Regions from separate parts of the Homo sapiens genome. Here region 2 is linked to region 1. Evidence: promoter capture Hi-C in human tissues and cell types (Jung and others, 2019). All regions are on one chromosome and are shown on one strand. The core of a region is centred on a gene start or on the middle of the fragment in contact, and the rest is flanking DNA. Distances in the headings are between cores, read along the strand shown. Region 1 holds the start of ZFR2 (zinc finger RNA binding protein 2). Region 2 overlaps APBA3 (amyloid beta precursor protein binding family A member 3).

The links. The method cuts DNA at HindIII sites, captures the fragments that hold promoters and counts their contacts. A contact is called where the count stands out against the background at its distance.
Region 2: a contact is called between a fragment that was not itself captured here and the fragment with the promoter of ZFR2 in region 1, in 2 of the 25 tissues and cell types used here (IMR-90 fibroblasts and mesendoderm cells).

The regions. Positions count from the first base shown.
Region 1 is chr19:3,866,204-3,871,041 of GRCh38, reverse strand. It overlaps ZFR2 (zinc finger RNA binding protein 2), which reads left to right and starts at 2,004. Exons shown (of 19, transcript NM_015174.2): 1 at 2,004-2,077. The coding sequence starts at 2,025. It also overlaps the pseudogene FTLP5. The HindIII fragment of the contact is 14,046 bases long and covers 1-4,838 here.
Region 2 is chr19:3,751,301-3,756,138 of GRCh38, reverse strand. It overlaps APBA3 (amyloid beta precursor protein binding family A member 3), which reads left to right. Exons shown (of 11, transcript NM_004886.4): 4 at 1,799-1,944; 5 at 2,034-2,120; 6 at 2,213-2,374; 7 at 3,149-3,319; 8 at 3,419-3,631; 9 at 4,586-4,705; 10 at 4,810-4,838. Among named protein-coding and RNA genes, the nearest start is that of APBA3, 8.0 kb to the left of the region's middle. The HindIII fragment of the contact is 3,385 bases long and covers 475-3,859 here.

The DNA of each region.
Region 1 (4,838 bases), core at 755-3,254:
TGACGGCTGCCTCCACCGCGGTGGAATAATTCTGACGAATCTGGGAGCTCATGGTTGGTCGGCAAGAAGGAGCTAACCAAAAAAACGGCGTTGGTTGGTCCGAGAAGCAGGAGATGGCTGAGCCGATGCTCCTGGAGGTTGCAAGAAGAGAGGAAATCAGCGGGTGGTCGGAGGCTGGAAGTGAGTTCCCGGATCTGTTCCATCCAAACACTGTGGAAGCAAGAGACGGATCCGCGGGACCGCCAAACACGCTGCTGCTTGTCAGGTTTCAATACTGTCAAGTGACTCTCCCTCCCCCTCCTTCCAGGCTGCAGTCTTGGGAAGGAAGTCACTATGCACAACCCACACTCAAGAGGTGTAGAGTTACTCTCTATCTCCTTAAGCGCAGTGTAGCTACACAAATTAGGAATTCTTCTGCATAAGAGATTTGTCTGTTTGCCTCCATTTATTTGTTTATTCATTCAATTCTTTCTCTCTCTCTCTCTCTCTCTCTTCTTTCCTTCCCTTCCCTCCCTCCCTGCTCCTCTCCCTCTCCTCTTTTATTATTTATTTATTTATTTTTTTATTTTTTATTTTTTTATTTTTTTGAGACGGTGTATTGCTCTGTTGCCCAGGCTGGAGTACAGTGGTGTGATCTCGGCTCGCTGCATCCTCCACCTCCTGGGTTAGGTAATTCTCCTGCCTCAGCCTCCCGAGTAGCTGGGATTACAGGTGTGCCCCACCACGCCTGGCTAATTTTTTTTTTTGTATTTTTAGTAGAGACAGGGTTTTGCCATGTTGGCTAGGCTGCTCTTGAACTCCTGACCTTGGGTGAGCTGCCCACCTCGCCTTCCCAAAGTGCTGGGATTACAGGCGTGAGCCACCACGCCCAGCCCTTTCTTTCTTTTCTCTTTTTTGAGACAGGGTCTCACTCTGGAGTGCAGTGGTACAGTCACAGATCACTGCAGCCTTGACAGCCCAGGCTCAAGTGATCCTCCCACCTTAGCCTCCTGAGTAGCTGGGACCACAGGCATGTACCACCATGACCAGCTAATTAAAAAAAAATTGTAGAAACAGGGTCTTGCTATGTTGCCCAGGCTAGTCTCAAAGTCCTAGGGCTCAAGATCCTCCTGCCTCCGCCTCTCAAAATGTTGGGATTACAGACGTGAGCCACTGTGCCCGGCCTATCATTTATTTATATCACGTTGTGAACACAGGAGGCAGAGACCATGGGGGCCTTCTGAAGAGTCATTCTGAGGCTAGATGCAGTGGCTCACGTCTGTAATCCCAGCACTTTTGGAGGCCAAGGCAAGATTATTTGAGGCCAGGAGTTCAACATCAGCCTGGGCAACATAGCAAGACACTGTCTCTACAAAAAATTTAAAAATTAGCTGGCTGTGGTGGTGGTGGGGCTTGAGCAGAGACCTCCACATCTGAGTGGTTAAAGAGAAGGTGGGGCTCGGAGACAGAGGTAGGGCTTGTGCAGAGACCATATCTGAGCAGGTAAAGGGAAGGCGGGGCTCCGAGAAAGAGGCGGGGCTTGTGGCATGGGTGGGGCTTGAGCAGAGACCTCCACACCTGAATGGTTAAAGGGAAGGTACGGTTCCAAAAAAAGGCGGGGCTTGTGGCATGGGTGGGGGTTGAGCAGAGATCACATCTGAGTGGGTAAAGGGAAGGCAGGGCTCTGAGTAAGAGGCGGGGCTTGTAGCATGGGCGGGACTTGATCAGATACCACCACATCTGAGTGGTTAAAGGGAATGTGGGGCTCCGAGAAAGAGGCAGGGCTTCTAGCATGGGCGGGGCTTGAGCAGAGACCTCCACATTTGAGTGGTTAAGAGGAGGGCGGGGCTCTGCGTAGGAGGCGGGGCCTCGGGGCAGGTGTGGTCGCGGGGCGGTGTCTCCCTAGCCTAAGAGAAGGAAGCGAGAAGGTGAGGGCTTCGCGCAGGGGGCGGAGCTTGGGGCGCGTGGCCAGGCGCGAGCGGCACGCGGCTCGGGGGCGGGGCGGGTGACGTCGCGGGTCCGCCAGGCTCGGGGAAGACGCCAAGATGGCGACGAGTCAGTATTTCGACTTCGCGCAGGGCGGCGGCCCGCAGTACAGGTAACTGCCCCGCCGCGCCAGCCCCCGCCAGTCCCGGCCCCTGCAGCCTGGCCGGGACCCCGCCTACCCCTTCTCCCGCCGCGTGCGCCCGGCCCGGCCCCAGTCCCAGCCCCAACCTGGAACCCCGGCCTGAGGGAAGCCGCGGCGCCGGGAGAAGCAGGCGGGGCGGCCTCAGGTTAGGCACCGGGCGGGATGCGGGCTCCGGGGCTCCGGCTGAGACGTCTCTGCAGCCAACGGTGTCTGTCGGCGGGAGCGGGAGGGGGCTCCTGAAGTGGGAGGGGGCCTGGGTTTGGGCCTGGGCCTGTGCGGGGTCGGGGGGGTCAGCCCCTGATGGGGGCGCCACGAGGAGGGCAGCGAGAGGGGACAGACCCGGGCGGGGGGTGGGTGGTCTGACCGAGGAGGGGAGGGGACGGAACTGACCCAATGCAGGGAGGAGACCTGGGAGGTGCCTGGCCGGGGAGTGGGTGGGGATGGGCAGAGGGGAGCTGACCCCTGATTGCTGGTAGGGGAAGAGAAGACACAGACCTAGGAGGGTGTCTGGCTGGGCAGGAGGAGGGGAAGGGCAGAGGGGCATTGACCCCCGATTGCGGGGGGAGGAGAAGACACAGACCTGGGAGGGTGCCTGGCCGGGCAGGGGGATGGACAGAGGGTAGCTGACCCCCGATTACTTGTAGGGGAGGAGAAAACAGAGATCAGCGAGGGTTCCTGGCTGGGCAGGAGGAAGCCACAGTCGAGGGGTGAGGAATTGGCCCCTGATGGGGGTAAGAGAGAAGACAGAAACCTGGGAGGGTGTCTGGCTGGACAGGGGGAGAGCTAGAGCGGAGCTGACCCCGATTGCTGGTAGGGGGAGAGAATTCAGACCTGGGAGGGTGTCTGGCTGGGCAGGAGGAGGGGAAGGGCAGAGGGGCGTTAATCCCCGATTGCTGGAGGAGGAGAAGGCAGAGACCTGGGAAGTTTCCCGACTGGGCAGGGGGCAGCAACATTCGAGTGTGGAGGGCACTGACCCCTGATGGTGGGGGTAGGAGAGAAGGCAGAGACCTGGGAGGGTACCTAGCAGGCAGGGGCAGAGACCTGGGGTGGGGTGTGGAGTAGGGGTGGGAACCTGACCCCTGATGTGGGGTGGAGGAGAGAAGACAGAGACCTGGGAGGTTACCCCAGGGAGGGGCGGAAACCGAGGTTGGTGGGGAACTGAGGCCTGACTGGGGAAGGGGGACAGAGACTTGGCGGGAAGCCAGTATTATGTGGGAGGAGGTCCTGAGGTCAAATAAGAGGGTGGGCACCTGGGTTTCCAGGGAACTGGGACCCTGCTGGGACAGTGAGGAGGGAGAAAGGGCCCTGAGTGTTGTGATATTTAAGATCCTTTTCTAGGTCTTAAATATGTGGTCGTTTGGGAGGGGAGGGAGAGAAAGGATCCTGGAGGAGAGATGGCAGGGGATGGGGACACACTGGGAACTGGCCAGGGGCAGAAGGGCTCAGAGGGTAGGGACACACACGGGGTAAGTTTGTGCCCCAAGTGTACAAACACACACTCTACACTGTTCTCCCAGGCCTGCTCCTCGGAGCATCTCTGCTATCTTCAGCCCGTCCATCTGCCCCCAAGACTGGAGTCCCAGTCCGGGAGCCAGGGCTGGCATCTCTGAGGGGACCAGATTCCCCCCCCAACAGTTGATCATTTCCGCGTGTCACCCTTGTGTTAGTTTCCAGCTGGTAGCTTGCTATAACCTTGTTTCTCACAGTCCCTGCTGAGCCCCCACAGATACAAACCACCCCTTGGGCACCTCATAGAGGGGCCTCTGCTGAGCTCAGGGGGGTCTTTGCCCCCCGCGGTGTTCCTACTGCATTTCAGCACATGGAAGAGAGATCCAGGCTGGTGTTTCAGCTTCCCGCGGTGGAGCGGCAGTGCCGACCCTTCCACCAGTGCTGTGATATTGCTGTGCCCTTTCTAATGGAATCACAAAGAGAAACCACCCAGGGCTTGGAAACCAGGGCTGTGGGAATGAGGAGTGCATCTGTTTCCTGCACTCGGAGTGGTTTCTCTGGTGGAGTATTTGACTAGTAATGGATTTCCTATTAGGGAAAGAATCTATGACCTGCTGATTTCCCAGAATGGAGCATTTAATTTTTATTTGATCTTTTCTTTTGCTTCCTTCATCCTCAGTGGTGTTTTGATTGCCAGGGCTCAGTTAAAGCGGCTGGACTTGGCTAGCGATCCAGGCTAGTACAAACTTCTGGACACACTCCACCCCTCTGCCTGCTAGCTCTTCCTTCTTTTCTCTTTCTCTTCTTTCTTTCTCCATTGTATTCTTCCATCAGACGTGGAAAATCACTTGAATATTATGCTTGCTATTAAAATTACCTTCCAGAGGAGAAATTGAATGTTTATGTTGTTCAAATAGGTGATTGCTAAGCTTCAGTAGAGGCTTCTGTCATTGATTTGAATTAACGTGCTTATACATTTTAGCACAGCTACCTTCTGTGTTCTGATGGCTTAGGTGATACAGTATACACGCAACCCATTTTAGCACAGCTACCTTCTGTGTTCTGATGGCTTAGGTGATACAGTATACACGCAACCCGGTGTTGAGTTGTTGAGTTAGTCCGTCCTTAGAATTGCCGCAGAGAGAATGTGTTCTTCCTTAAGAAAATAGTAAGCTATTAACTAAAAATAACACAGGAATCATAGCAAAATACATTTCATTCTCACAAAACCTTGAAACAAGATGATAGGCATTATTTGAATGACTTTAGGTTAACTAGACAT
Region 2 (4,838 bases), core at 918-3,417, 120 kb after region 1:
TCTCTATTCAGTCGAGCCACATTTCAAGTCTGTGATAGATACATGTGCCTGGTGGCTACCACAGTGAATGACGTATCTCTCTAGAACCCCAGAGTGGAGCTCTTGTTCCAGAATGCTTAGATCCTGAAGGATAGTGGGCAGAACCGACTGTGGTGTAGGGTGAATTTCACTTAGTGGTGTCCAGAACGGGGCCCTACACCCGTGGTTCTAAACCAAAGAGCCGTAGTTACTGGTTAGAATGTTCTAGGGCCACTGGCAGAGCTGTCTGGCTCTGGGTAGCTCAGGGAATTCTAGAACCATGAGAGTAAAGCTTTTTTTTTTTTTTCCTTTTTGTTTTTGGAGATGGAATCTTGCTCTGTCACCCAGGCTGGTGTGCAGTGGTGCGATCTCTCTCGGCTCACTGCAACCTCCACCTCCTGGGTTCAAGTGATTCTCCCGCCTCAGCTTTCAAGTAGCTGGGATTATAGGCACGCGCCACCACGCCCAGCTAATTTTGTATTTTTAGTAGAGACGGGGTTTCGCCATGTTGGCCAGGCAGGTCTCGAACTCCTGACCTCAGGTGATCCACCCCCCCCCCCCGGCCTCCTAAAGTGCTGGGGTTACAGACGTGAGCCACCGCACCCAGCCAGGAGTAAAGCTTTATGTAGTTCTGGGCTGGGTTGGGAGTATTCTGGAACTGTCTAGAATTCTCCTGGAACAGAATTGTTTGTTCCTTGACTGGTCAGGTAATTCTTAGAATCCCTGGTGTAGCCAAAGGTGTGAACTACTGAAGGAGATTCTAGAACCACAGGAAGAGCTGCCTGACGCGATTGTGATTAAGATGTTCTGGAATCACGGAGCAGAGAAGTCTGATTCTAGAGTGATAATAAGATTCTAAAACTCCTGACAGAATTGCTATGAGACCTGTCAGAGAGTTCTGGAATCAAGGGTCAGAACCAGCTGGGGTTCTGGAGAGTATGGGAATTTTAGACAGGCAGCAGGGTCTGTCTCTGTTCTGAGTGGTTCTACAACCCGGGAACAGAGCTGCCTGCTATCCTGGGCTGACTGCAGACGGTTCTAGAACAGTGGGCAGAGCTGGCCAGTTCTAGATTGATGGAGGGAATTCCAGAACCAAGAAGCAGGGGTCCACTGTGGTTCTAGAATGTTGTGGAGGTTTCGAAATTGGAGTGGGGGGTGGAGCGTCGTGGCTCACGCCTGTCATCCCAGTACTTTAGGAGGCCAAGGCGGGTGGATCACTTGAGGTCGGGAGTTTGAGACCAGCCTGGCCAACGTGGCGAAACCCCGTCTCTACTAAAAATACAAAAACTAGCCAGGCGTGGTGGTGGGCGCCTGTAATCCCAGCTACTCATGAGACTGAGGCAGGAGAATCGTTTGAACCCAGGAAGCGGAGGTTGCAGTGAGCTGAGATCACACCACCGAGCTCCAGCCTGGGCGACAGAGCGAGACCGTGTCTCAAAAAAGCAGGAGTGGGACTGTCTGGTTCCGGCCTGATCATGGAATTCTGGGGACACGGGGTGAAGGTATCTGTGGGTGCTAGATCTGGCTTTGAATCCAGCCATGGCCTGGACTCACTGGTTTCCCACCTGCGAGTCCTTGAGGGATGGACAGAAGGTTCTAGACCTGTGAGGGCCAGGCTGCTTGGATGGTTCTAGAACAGTGGGCTGTGCTTCCTGGCTGGAGAGTGCTAAGCCACCAGCTAGAACACTGTGTCTCCCGGCCATCTCGGAGAGCGTAGCCCTGGGGCAGAGCCTGTGGGAGTGGGCCCCTGGGGGCCGACCCTCTTCGCTGTCGCCCTCAGTGCCTGGTCCCTGTGACCATGAAGACCTCCTGGACGGTGTCATATTTGGGGCCAGGTACCTGGGGTCCACCCAGCTGGTGTCGGAACGGAACCCGCCCACCAGCACGCGCATGGCCCAGGCCCGGGAGGCCATGGACCGCGTCAAGGTGAGGGGGCGGCCGGGGCCGGGCGGGCAGGCGGGTGGGCTGCAGGCTGGGTCTGTGGGGGCCTCCACCTCCCACGCCGCCACCCACAGGCCCCCGATGGGGAGACCCAGCCCATGACGGAGGTGGACCTGTTCGTCTCCACCAAGAGGATCAAGGTCTTGACAGCGGACTCCCAGGTACGGGGCAGGGACCCGCCCCAGGGATGCGGGTGGGGTGATCGAGCCTGGCACGGCCCCCCAACCCACCCAGGCTGCCTCTCCCGCCCCAGGAGGCCATGATGGACCACGCCCTGCATACCATCTCCTACACAGCCGACATCGGCTGCGTGCTGGTGCTGATGGCGCGGCGGCGGCTGGCACGGAGGCCGGCACCCCAGGACCACGGCCGCCGCCTCTACAAGATGCTCTGCCACGTATTCTACGCGGAGGACGTGAGCAGCCAGGGCGCGGGGCCACCCTCCTGAGGCCCTCCTCACTGCAACTGTCGCCTCCCTCAGTGGGCCGTGCATTTAACCTCCCTCCCATAAGCTTATTTTTAAATTCTTTTTTTGGGACAAGGTCTCCTTCTGTCACCCAGGCTGGAGTGCAGTGGCGCAATCATAGTTCACTGCAGCCTCAACCTTCCAGGCTCAAGCGATCCTCCCACTTCAGCCTCTCTAGTAGCTGGGACCACCGGGGTATCACCATGCCTGGCTAATTTTTGTATTTTTTATAGAGACACGGTCTCGCTCTGTTGCCCAGGTGAACACGGTCTCAAACTCCTGGGCTCAAGCGATCCACCCACCTCAGCCTCCCAAAGTGCTGCAATTACAGGCGTGAGCCACCGCGTCCAGCCTCCTATAAGACTCCAAGACTCTCGGCCGACTCCCCGAAACCTTGCCCGCTCCTGGGCTGTCCCTGCCACCCATGAGGCCCCAGGCCCCCTGGCTGGGTCTTTGATAGCTTTTCCCACAGCCCATGCGCAGGGAGCTGCCTCCCTCATCGTCCCCCCAGCCCAGGGCTGCCCCTCCCCTTCCTTCTCCCCGTAGATTCCCCAAGATGCGGCTGTCTCTCCACCTCCCCCAAAGCCCCAGGGCAGAAGGCTGTGTCCTGGGACTCTCACCCCAGGTGGGGACAGGAGGGCTCAGCTCTGAGGACCCTGGGGACTTTGGGGACCTGGAGGAGGTGGGTGGGACACCCCAGGGACGCGCCACTCCTCCCCGCAGGCCCAGCTCATCGCCCAGGCCATTGGCCAGGCCTTCGCCGCCGCCTACAGCCAGTTCCTACGGGAAAGCGGTATTGACCCCAGCCAGGTGGGCGTGCACCCGAGCCCAGGCGCCTGCCACCTCCATAATGGGGACCTGGACCACTTCTCCAACAGTGACAACTGCCGGGAGGTGAGTGAGGTGCTGGGCAGCCCCCACCTGGTGCCCCCCACACCCGTGCACCTGCACCGGGCCCTGCTGAGCAGCCTCCGCGCCCCCTGTGTGTCCCAGGTGCACCTCGAGAAGCGGCGAGGGGAGGGCCTGGGCGTGGCCCTGGTGGAGTCGGGCTGGGGCTCCCTGCTGCCCACAGCCGTCATCGCCAACCTGCTGCACGGGGGGCCTGCTGAGCGCTCGGGGGCCCTCAGCATCGGGGACCGCCTGACCGCCATCAACGGGACCAGCCTGGTGGGGCTGCCCCTGGCTGCGTGCCAGGCCGCTGTCCGCGTGAGTTTCCTGGTGTGGCAGGGCCCCCACACTCCCAGGAAGGGGAGCTGAGTCCCAGAGAGGTCTCCTCCCTGGCCAGGTCTCTCCAGCCCAGCCAGGAGGGACAAAGTCGAACTTTTAAGTCCTGCCCACTGGTGTGCCCTTGGGGAAACTGAGGCCTGGAGAAGGGAGGCCACTTGTCCAGGGCACCTCCCTAGTACCAGAGCCAGGATGGAAATGCGGGTGGCCCAGCTCCAGGGCTGGGCCACTCTCTCTCTCTAACAAGAAACAGCTAATTTCTGGGGGGGTTTGTTTGTTTGAGACAAGGTCTCACTCTTGCCCAGGCTGGAGTGCAGCGGTGCACCTGGCTCATTGCAGCCTTGACCTTCTGGGCTCAAGCAAATCTCCTTCCTCAGCCTCCCGAGTAGCTGGGACCACAGGTGTGCACCACCACGCCCAGTTTATTGTTTTATTTTTTGTAGAGATGGAGTCTCACTATGTTGGTTGGCCAGGCTGGTCTTGAGCTCCTGGCCTCAAGTGATCCACCTGCCTCGGCCTCCCACAGTGCTGGGATTACAGGTGTGAGCCACTGCACCTGGCCATGTTTTTGAGTCTCAACCTTTGTTGCTCAGATGGGGAAACTGAGGCCCAGAGATAGGGAGGGACCTGCCCCCGTCAGAGGAATGAGGCCACAGTCCGTGCAGCCTCTTACAGATGTTTGCAGCCTGCCTGGAGAGCCCGGCTGTCGGCTTGGCTTTTGGCCATAAGGAAGCGATATGGCTCGGGTCAGACAGCTTCGACCCCATGCCCACCGGGCCCGAGTCTGTTCTCTATCACATCTGAGGGGGTCTTCCAGAATTGAGCCCCTGGACTCCAGGTCTCTGGTTTATGAGAGGGTAAACTGAGGCCCAGAGGGGGCTACAACCTGCCAGGCTGTCCGGCAGCTGAGTGAGGCCAACGGCCCCCGCCCCACAGGAGACGAAGTCGCAGACGTCGGTGACACTCAGCATCGTCCACTGCCCTCCCGTCACCACCGCCATCATCCACCGGCCCCACGCCCGCGAGCAGCTGGGCTTCTGCGTGGAGGACGGCATCGTGAGGCCCCGGCCCCTGGCCCCGGGGTGGGGGGGTAGGGCGGCCCTGAGCACGGCCCCTGAGCAGCCCCCACCTCTTTCCCGTCCCCCTCTTTTCTCCCCCAGATCTGCAGCCTCCTCCGTGGTGGCATCGC